Regions from separate parts of the Homo sapiens genome. Here regions 2, 3 and 4 are each linked to region 1. Evidence: promoter capture Hi-C in human tissues and cell types (Jung and others, 2019). All regions are on one chromosome and are shown on one strand. The core of a region is centred on a gene start or on the middle of the fragment in contact, and the rest is flanking DNA. Distances in the headings are between cores, read along the strand shown.

The links. The method cuts DNA at HindIII sites, captures the fragments that hold promoters and counts their contacts. A contact is called where the count stands out against the background at its distance.
Region 2: a contact is called between a fragment that was not itself captured here and the fragment with the promoter of EFCAB13 in region 1, in 1 of the 25 tissues and cell types used here (dorsolateral prefrontal cortex).
Region 3: a fragment that was not itself captured here is called in contact with the fragment with the promoter of EFCAB13 in region 1 in 1 of the 25 tissues and cell types used here (mesenchymal stem cells).
Region 4: a contact is called between a fragment that was not itself captured here and the fragment with the promoter of EFCAB13 in region 1, in 3 of the 25 tissues and cell types used here (heart left ventricle, mesenchymal stem cells and mesendoderm cells).

Annotation. Positions count from the first base shown.
Region 1 is chr17:47,322,698-47,325,211 of GRCh38, reverse strand. EFCAB13 (EF-hand calcium binding domain 13) reads right to left here and starts at 1,257. Exons shown (of 25, transcript NM_152347.5): 1 at 1,138-1,257; 2 at 689-758. EFCAB13-DT (EFCAB13 divergent transcript) reads left to right here and starts at 1,311. Exons shown (of 3, transcript NR_110880.1): 1 at 1,311-1,523. RefSeq lists enhancers at 469-648, 689-778 and a silencer at 1,119-1,528. The HindIII fragment of the contact is 8,264 bases long and covers 1-2,514 here.
Region 2 is chr17:47,078,018-47,080,531 of GRCh38, reverse strand. The region is part of intron 1 of LOC101927060 (a long non-coding RNA gene); the gene reads left to right. Among named protein-coding and RNA genes, the nearest start is that of RPRML, 100 kb to the right of the region's middle. The HindIII fragment of the contact is 6,830 bases long and covers 1-2,514 here.
Region 3 is chr17:47,133,783-47,136,296 of GRCh38, reverse strand. The region is part of intron 14 of CDC27 (cell division cycle 27); the gene reads left to right. It also overlaps the pseudogene LOC112268192. Among named protein-coding and RNA genes, the nearest start is that of CDC27, 54 kb to the left of the region's middle. RefSeq lists an enhancer at 1-367. The HindIII fragment of the contact is 3,309 bases long and covers 1-2,514 here.
Region 4 is chr17:47,163,394-47,165,907 of GRCh38, reverse strand. The region is part of intron 4 of CDC27 (cell division cycle 27); the gene reads left to right. Among named protein-coding and RNA genes, the nearest start is that of CDC27, 25 kb to the left of the region's middle. The HindIII fragment of the contact is 5,468 bases long and covers 1-2,514 here.

The sequences.
Region 1 (2,514 bases), core at 8-2,507:
AACTCCCACCTCTACAGAATTTTTTTTTTAATCAGCTGGACATGGCGACCTTAGTCCCAGCTACTCCAAAGACTGAGCCAGGAGGATCTTTTGAGCCCAGGAGTTTGAAGCTGCAGTGGGCTATGATTGCACCACTGCACTCCAGCCTGGACGACAGAGACCTTGTCTCAAAAAAAAAAAAGGGGGGTGGGGTGGGCGGTTAAGATCAGTACTGAATGGTTCGCTAGGTTTCACAACACGGAGGACACTGACAAACTTGAAAGGAGCCATCTGGGTGGGGTGGTAAGGAGACAATGTCGTCAGAGTGAGTACAAGAGAGAACGGGGTAAAGAAATTGAACCCAGCCAGTAGGGTAGGCTCTTTCAAGGAGTTACGTTGTTAAGAGAAATAAGGCAGTAGCTGAGAGGAAAATGGGGCTGTGAGGCTTTAAGATGAGAAAAACAAAGGCGTCTTCACTGAAGCATGACTCTGTATGACATCCTTTCACAAAATACCTTCCTCTTTCCTCTCATGCCACATTTCCCTCACAAGCCGCCCGACTCGCTCGCTTTTCTCTCGCCAGAGGGACTGAAAACGTCATTAATACCAACTGCATACACAACTCCATTGCAGCTACTGCCATTCATGAACGTTCAAACTTTCGTCACCCTGTTTTCATATTTGTGTAACAAACGTCGAGTGAACGAACCTCCACCTCTTCCAAGAACCCACGCTGAGGAGGCTTCCCATAGACCCTGCTCTTACGAAGCCAACGACTTCTACAGGAAGAAAGAGGACCTGTAAGCTAGCGAGTGAACGACCCGCAAGATGGAAATGAGTGTGCTAATAGAGGTCTCCGCCTCCCGCTGAAGGAGCAGGGAAGTGACACCACCCCCGGGACCGCCAGCCTTCTACAACAACCACCATTTCTGAGGAACCACCTGATCAGTCTCAGTCACCCTTCAATCTGCCCCTTTGTCCCACTCAGTCCCCTCACTGTTCCTTTCTGGAACCTTCCTTCACCCAGCCCCACCACTGTTCTCCTTCCTCCCTCGCACCCTACTGCATTCTCCACCCTCCACCTCGAAGGCTCCCCTCCCAACTCCTCAGCGGGTCTCGCCTCCCCTCCCCACCTCTGTCCCCCAAGGGTCCCACTACCGGCCCGAGCTGCCCTCCCTTCCTCTCGGCTGGAGGCCCCCGCGCTCTCTGTGGTCAGCCCCTGCCGCCCCTCGGGCGGCGCTGCTCTAGCTCTGCAGCCTTCCCAGGATCCCGCGCCGCGCGGCCCCGCCCCCGCGGTCACCTGACCGAGCCCGACGCTCCGCCCACCGACCACCCCGAGCGGAGCGGGCCCAGGACCCTATCGGCTGTCGAGCCGGTGCTGCCGCGGCCACCGCCACCGCCCAGGGGCTCCGGGGCTGTGGGGAGCGGCTGAACTCAATACCGCCTCCGCGCTGACTGGAAGGCACTGCGGCCGCGCCTGCCTGCCCCACCTCGTAAGGGCCTGTGACCTCACGAGGCCAGCCGCCGGGCGCTGCATTCGAGCGGTGGGGCTCCTGTCCGTGCGCTTTCCTCCCGCAGCCCCGGCCGGGATTCCGCCCTCCGTCCTTGCCACCCGCTCGCCACTCTTCCCTAATCGCTGTTCATTCTCCGGTGCGCTGTCCCGCCATGGTCTGACCCCACTTCAATCTTACCTTCGGTCCGTCCTTTGAACACCCCGACCCCCGACCCCTTTCTTCCAAAACATTCCATCCTTCTTGGCTTCTGCTACTCAATAATGGACAGCAGCTCGAAGGCCATGTGTCCCACGGCTTTGCTGAAATTTGTCTCGGGTTGCCTTTAAGGAGACTGTCGTTTCCTTTTGAAAGAGATACTTTGGTTGGTTTGGTTTTCTTCTGTGTGTTTGTTTTTCCTATGTATTTATCGTATGCAGTTGGGCAAAATACTTAACGCTCCCTGAGTCTCGATTTTCTCATTCTTCCAGGGTTGTGGGAATTCAAAAATATATACGTAGTGCTCAATAAATGTTACAATATTTAATCCCTTCCGTGATACTACTGTGTTCATTTACATCTTAAACCTTGCTTTGTAGGCATTCTTTAATATTTTATTTAGATTTTTATTATTATTAAATATATGTACAAATCATAATTGTAAATATTTAATGGGGTACAATGTTATATTTTAATATATGTATACAATATGGAACGACTAAGTCAAGCTTAACATATCCATCACCTTGTTTAACGTTTTTTATGGTGAGACATTTGAAATTTACTCTTAGCAGTTTTGAGATATACGATATATTATTATTAGCTATAGTCACCACACTATGCAATAGATCTCAGAAACTTGCTGCTTTTGTCTGACTGAACCTTGTACCCTTTGAACAGCATCTCCCCATCCTGCATCTCCTACCCGCCCCGTCCCTTTCCAGCCTCTAACAACTATTCTACTGTCTACTTCTATGAGTTTGACTTTTTAAGATTCCACATATAAGTGAGATCATGTGGTATGTGTCTTTCTGTGCCTGGCTTT
Region 2 (2,514 bases), core at 7-2,506, 240 kb after region 1:
CCTGGGCAACATAGTGAGACCTTGTGTTTACAAAAAATACAAAAATTAGCTGAGCATGATGGCACGTGCCTGTAGTCCCAGCTACTGAGGAGGCTGAAGTGGGAGGATCACTTGAGCCCATGAAGTGGAGGTTGCAGTGAGCCAAGATTGTGCCACCACACTCCAGCCTGGGCAACTAAGACCTTGTCTCATTAAAAGGAAAACACTATTAGAATATAATGGTTAATTGAACGTGTATTTAGAACAAAACAGTGTGGGTATCTGAGTTAACAGGAAACAAGAAAAATGCTGTATAATGCAAGCAAGCCATTGATGTAACTGTCATATTTGTTAGATTTATGGAAAAGTGCCTACTATGTCTCAGCAGCGTTCTCCATAGTAGGGTCACAATAGTGAACAAAAATCCTACCTTCATGAAGCTTACATTCTTGCAAAGTATTTTTTATATTAGCTTGGTATGGCTGAGCTCTATCTTTATCTAGACCCATGTCTAGAAAAAGTCTGTGGCTACTAAAAATAAGGGTCAAAATGCCTTTTTGACCTTAGTACTAGTCAAAGCCTTAAGAAAATGGCTTTCCTGTGAACAGTATCCGTTAAATTAGTAGGCCAAAAGTTAACGGTTGATCAACTGATAAAATGAACAGAATGATCAGGGTTTGAAGTGAAAGTTCTGTGGGCTGTCTAATCATTTAAACTTTTATTCCAAAAATTTCACTGGAGACTTCTACCTTCTTTCCAGATTGGAGATACATATATATATATATATATATATATATATATATATATATATATATATATATATATATATTTTCCAAACATTTGATAGAGCTACTTTAATTGAGGACACAGTTTTTATTATTAATTTATTCCCTTAGGGTAGTGTAAAAATTAAATCCTGATTTACTTATTTAAAAATTAGCTAAATCCTGATTTACTTATTTAAAAATTAGCTAGAACAAAACTAATAAACATTCTAGATTTGGTCAATATTTTGCTTTCTCAACTCTTCACAAAGGAAATTTTAAAGTGAGATTTGTAGAACTTGAACTGGATTGGTGACTAAGAATAACTAGGAGGTGACTGGATATGCCTGTACTGAGGAGAAAAACACAGTCTTTCTCTATCAGAGACACCTCTTCGGTGTCTGTTTCTAGGTTTTTATAGCCAGTAGTTAAGTGGGAATTTCTATATTTGAGAACTAGAGTCTCTTAGTAACAACTGAGATTAGTACAATAGTAGTCATAAGTGTTGCTTCATCTTTTTATATACATTCATAAATATATATATGTAAGTTTATATATGTGTATATGTTATGTTATTTTAGTTGCCTGTTATAAAACTGCCACACTTCATAGAACTTAAGATGCTATTGATTGTAAGATGTACCATTATTTTAAGTACAACAAAGAAATTATTTCCATTAAACTAGGGCATAACAGCAATTGTAAGATGCATCTTGTTTTAAAAGTTGTTGACGTGGGGAAAGTACCTCTTAGAACTGAAGAAATACTGTGTATCAATTCTCAGGAAACTTTGAAATTACACAGAAGTATAAAAGACACACCCTCCCCCCGCCCCCCCAAAACAAAACAAAACAAAACCAACAGCTCAAAATTATCTCGCTACCCACATTATGGTACATTTTCCTAGCACATGAATAATTTGTTTAAACACAGTCATGTTATATATGTGCCCTGAATATTTCCCAGTTGGTTTTTGGAAAACATTTTTAATGGCTGCCTGCTATTGGCTTTCCTCGTTGACTATTTAAGTTACGTTTATTATTAAAATTAAGTATGCCATGATAAACATCTTTATCTTAGTCAAAGGTATGAATGCTCTTTTATGTTCTTAATGCATACTTTAGAGAAGTATTTTGGTCGTGTCAGTTTATAGTCTCACTAGCTGTGTATAAGAAGATACCTCATTTGGTTCATGCTTTATTCTTCAGCTCATCACTCAGAAGTAATGACAGAGCAGTTTTCAGAAACTTTCAAAATATCTGAAAAGTATTTCTAAATATCTGGAAAATAATCTGGAGTTTTGTGTATACCGTCACACATTGCTTAACGAAAGGGAAACCGATAAATGTGTTGTTAGGTGATTTCATTGGTGTGTGAATGTCATAGAGTGTACTTAAATACAAGCTGAGGGTTGGGCGTGGTGGCACACGCCTATAATCTCAGCACTTTGGGAGGCCGAGGCATGGGAGGGCAAGGTGGGTGAATCACCTGAGGCCAGGAGTTCGAGACTAGCCTGGCCAACATGGTGAAACCCCATCTCTACTAAAAATACAAAAAAAAATTAGCCAGGTGTGGTGGCGAGTGCCTATAACCCCACCTACTTGGTAGGCTGAGACAGGAGAATCACTTGAACCCGGGAGATGGAGGCTGCAGTCAGCCAAGATCGTGACACTGTACTCCAGCCTGGGCAAGGGCAGAGCGAGACTGTCTCAAATACATACATATTTACATACATATAAGCTGAGGTGGTATGGCCTACTATACACTTAGA
Region 3 (2,514 bases), core at 11-2,510, 190 kb after region 1:
AGTTACATTGCCTGAAAGATGGCCAAAAAAATAGTGCTAGCTTTTGCTGACCAATGTAACAATCAACTTGCCAATGCTGCTGTCTCTTCCGATAGCTATGTTCTCTGTAATATTTTAAGAACTCAGTTTTTTTTTTGTTTGTTTGTTTGTTTTTTGAGGCAGAGTCTCGCTCTGTCACCCAGGTTGGAGTGCAGTGGCGCCATCTTGGCTCACTGTATGCTCCGCCTCCCAGGTTCACGCCATTCTCCTGCCTCAGCCTCCCGAGTAGCTGGGACTACAGGTGCCTGCCACCATGCCCGGCTAATTTTTTTTGTATTTTTAGTAGAGACGGGATTTCACCATGTTAGCCAGGATGGTCTCAATCTCCTGACCTCATGATCCACCCACTTTGGCCTCCCAGTGCTGGGATTACAGGCATGAGCCACCATACCCGGCCAGGAACTCAGTTCTTAATAAGACTTGTGTTGTTTTTGATTTTTTCCCAAGTCTGGTTGATCCTTGTGTTGTTTTTTTTTTAAATGTGTATTGTCTGTTCAGCTATTTTGCAGGAGTTGCATTCTTAAAAAACTTAACCATATCAAAAATTGTGTTTAAAGGAGGATTATTCAGATTGGCAAGCTTTTACTAGGAGGAGTTTAAATGCTGACGTATTTAGGTAACTAAATACTGAGCAACTTTATTCTAAGTACAAAATAGATAGCCTTTCTTTTGTTTTCACTTTCACTATCATTAGCATAGTGTTTAATACCTTTTCTTCATCTATAACACAAGTATAATGATATATAAAGCCACTCAAATAAAGCAGATATGTTGTGCTTTTTTCTTATTCATTTGATGCTTATTCCCCATCATCATCATCATCATCATCATCATCATCATCATCATCATCTAGTTATGGCCATGAGAAGTCTCCGTAATATAAACCATCCACACTATATTCATTTGACATTTTGAAAATTCAGGAGAAATACCTGCATATTAACCTAATACACTATTACATAGCCTTTAGAAATTGTAATTTTGAGGTCTATAAGTATAGGAGCATGCTTTTGATAACAGTAAGTGGGGGACAAGGAAGCCAAACATGACACTATGTATGCTATAATTATAATAATATAAAACAGAAATGTGGGAATAGCATTGTTAGGAGTTCAGCCTTTAGAATCATTAAGGAAGAACCTGGTTAGAATCTTTATTAGCTGTATAACTTTAAGCAAGTTATTTAACTTCTCTAAGTTTCAGTTTCCTTATTCGAAATAAGGATGATAATGGTACCTATGATTCCTCTAGGGATTAAATGAGATAATTTAGCAATGGTCTTGGCACACATGTAATAACTACTCAGTAAAAATTAGCTGTTAAATCTAGAATATGACAGGTATGGTGGCTCATACCTATAAGCCCAGCACTTTAGGAAGCTGAAGCTGGAAGATTACTTGAGACCAGGAGTTTGAGACCAGCCTGGTCAACATAGCAAGACCCCTTCCCTAACAAAAAAAAAAAAAAAAAAAGAAAACAATTAAGGCCGGGCACGGTGGCTCACGCCTGTAATCCCAGCACTTTGGGAGGCTGAGATGGGCGAATCATGAGGTCAAGAGATCAAGACCATCCTGGCCAACATGGTGAAACCCCGCCTCTACTAAAAATACAAAAATTAGCTGGGTGTGGTGATGCGTGCCTGTAGTCCCAGCTGCTTGGGAGACTGAGGCAGGAAAACCACTTGAACCTGGGAGGTGGAGGTTGTGCCACTGCACTCCAGCATGGCAACAGAGTGAGACTCCATCTCAAAAACAAAACAAAACAAAACAAAACAAAAAAAAAACAATTAGGCATGGTGGTGTATGCCTGTAGTCCTAACTACTCAGGAGGCTGAGGTGGGAGGATTGCGTGAGCCTAAGAGTTCAAGGTTACCTGCAGTGAGCTATGATCACGCCATTGCACTCCAGCCCGGGCGACAGAGCAAGACGTTGAATTAAAAAAAAAAAAAAAATCTATATGGGTTTAGGGGTGTGGTTTCTTTTTTCCTTATTATCATAGTTTGATTTGATTTGATTTGATTGTTTTTGCTTGTAAAAGTGACTCTTTAAAATGTTTTAATGGTCTGGGCATGGTGGCTCATGCCTGTAATCCTAGCGTTTGGGAGGCCAAGGTGGGAGGATTGTTTGAGGCTAAGAGTTTGAAACCAGCTTGGTCAACATAGTGAGACCTCGTCTCCACAAAAAATTAAAAATATGTTAATATAAGAAGGCTGGGGGTGGTAGCTCACACCTGCAATCCCGGCACTTTGGTAGGCTGGGACAAGCAGATCACTTAAGGCCAGGAGTTCAAGACCAGCCTGGCCAACATGGGGAAACCTCGTCTCTACTAAAAATACAAGAAAATTAGCTGGGCGTGGTGACACATGCCTGTAATCCCAGCTACTTGGGAGGCTGAGGCACGAAAATCGCTTGAACCCAGGAGGCAGAGGTTGCAGTGAGCTGAGATTGCACCACTGCACTCCAACCTGGGTGACAA
Region 4 (2,514 bases), core at 7-2,506, 160 kb after region 1:
TATCCTTTTTAGCAAATAATGGTGCCAGTGCAATTGGATATCCATAGGCAGAGAAATGAGCATTGACTTAAACCCCATACCTTATTAAAAATTTAACTCAAATGAATCATGGATCTAAATGTAAAACATAAAACTATTAAACTTTTAGAAAAAAATCTTTATGAGCTAGGGTTAGGCAAAGACTTCTTAAACATAACACCCAAATGACAGTACATAAAATAAAAAGTTGATAAATTTTATCAAAATTAAAACTCTTTGCTTGGCAAAAGACATTAATGAAAATACACACAAGTCACAGCCTGGGAGAAAATATTTGCAAATCCCATAAACAACACAGATTGTATCTAGACTATATAAAGAACTCTCTCAGTAATAAAAGAAAAATCAGTTCAATTAGAAAATAAGTAAAACAATTGAATGGACATTTCACCAAAGAGAGTATATGGATGGTAAATAAGCAGGTGAAAAGATGTTCTAAATCGTTAGCCATTAAGGAAAGTGATTAAAAACCACCATTAGATACAATGGCTAAAAATAAAAACTACTGACAATACCAAGTGCTGGTGAGAGGATGCAGTGCAGCAGGATTCCTCGTACACTGCTGGTGGGAATGTAAGGTGATATTTTACACAGGAGTTCATAGCAACTTTATTCATAAAAGCCCAAAACTGGAAACAACCCAAAATTCAGTAAGTAAATAGATAAACTAGTCCATATGATGGACTACTTAGCAATAAAGAGAAACAAACTACTATATTGATATGTATAGTAACTTAGATAGATTACAAGGTTATTATGGCAAGTGAAAAAAGCCAATTTCAGAAGTTTCTATAATTCCATTTATATAACATTAATCTGACAGAATTATAGTGAAGGAGAACAGATCAGTGGTTCTCAGGTTGGGTTAGGGTGAGGATGTAACTATTTAGGGGTTTCTTTGGGATATTAAAACAGTTTTATATCCTGATTGTAGTAGTGGTTATAGAAATTTGTAAATGTGATAATATTCTCTATATAAACGTGTAAAAACTGCTAAAATTCAAATAAGCTCTGTGGTTTAGTTTACAGTTGTTGTTGTTGTTGTTGTTTGAAATGGAATCTTGCGCTCTGTCGCTCAGGCTGGAGTACAGTTGCACAATCTCAGCTCACTGCAGTCTCCACCTCCCAGGTTCAAGCAGTTCTCGTGCCTCAGCCTCCGGAGTAGCTGGGATTACATGTGAGCGCCACCATGCCCAGCTAATTTTTGTATTTTTAGTAGAGACGGGGTTTCACCATATTGGCCAGGCTGGTCTCAAATTCCCAACCTCACATGATCCACCTGCCTCGGCCTCCCGAAGTGCTGGGATTACAGTCATGAGCCACCGTGTCCAGCGTAGTTTACAGTTTTGTACTAATGTCAATTTCCTAGTTTTGATAACTGTACTATGGTTATGTCAGATATTATTGGGGGAAGCTGGGTGTAGGGTACATGGGAACTGTGTACTGTTTTTGCAAGTTCTATGTAAGTCTAAAATTATTCCAAAGTAAAGTTTAAAAAAATTAAGTTAAAATCACAAATATGTTATACAGTCATGTGTCACTTTATGATGGGGATTTGTTCTGAGAAATGTGTCCTTAGGTGATTTTGTCATTTGTGAACATCATAAAGTGCATATGCACAAACCTAGATGGTGTAGCCTACTACACACCTAGGCTATATTGTATAACCTATTGCTCCTGGGCCACAAACCTGTACAGCATGTTACCTTACTGAATACTGTAGGCAGTTATAACAGTATGGTAAATATTTGTGTATCTAAACAAAGAAAAGATACAGTAGAAATATGGCATTATAATCTTATGGGGGCCAGGCAGGGTGGCTCACACCTATAATCCCAGCATTTTGGGAGGCCGAGGCGGGCAGATCACCTGAGGTCAAGAGTTCGAGACTAGCCTGGCCAACACGGTGAAACCCCACCTCAACTAAAAATACAAAAATCAGCTGGGCGTGGTGACACGAGCCTGTAATCCAGCTACTGGGGAGGCTGAAACAGGAGAATCACTTGAATCCAGGAGGCAGAGGTTGCAGTGAGCTGAGATCGTGCCATTGTACTCCAGCCTGGGCAGCAAGAGTGAAACTCCATCTCAAAAAAAGCAAAAGAAACAAATAATCTTATGAGACTATTGTCATACATGTGATCTGTTGTAACAGAATGTCATGTGGCACTGAACTATTCAGATAAAATCATTAAAGTTTTTTTAAAGATGCAGTTAAATCAGTTCCTCAGAAAGGTATGTGTGTGTATGTATACATATATGTAAACAAGGAAGTTCTTTTTTCTCCTTCTTCAGAGGAATATGGATGGGTTCTTTTATATTTTTTTGGTTTTGGTAGATATGGGGTCTCCCTATGTTGCCCAGGCTGGTCTTAAGCTCCTGGGCTCAAGCAGTCCTGGCACCTCAGCCTCCCAAAGTGCTGGGATTACAGGCATGAGCCACAGCACCCAGCCAAGGGTTATTTTTATTCATCATCAA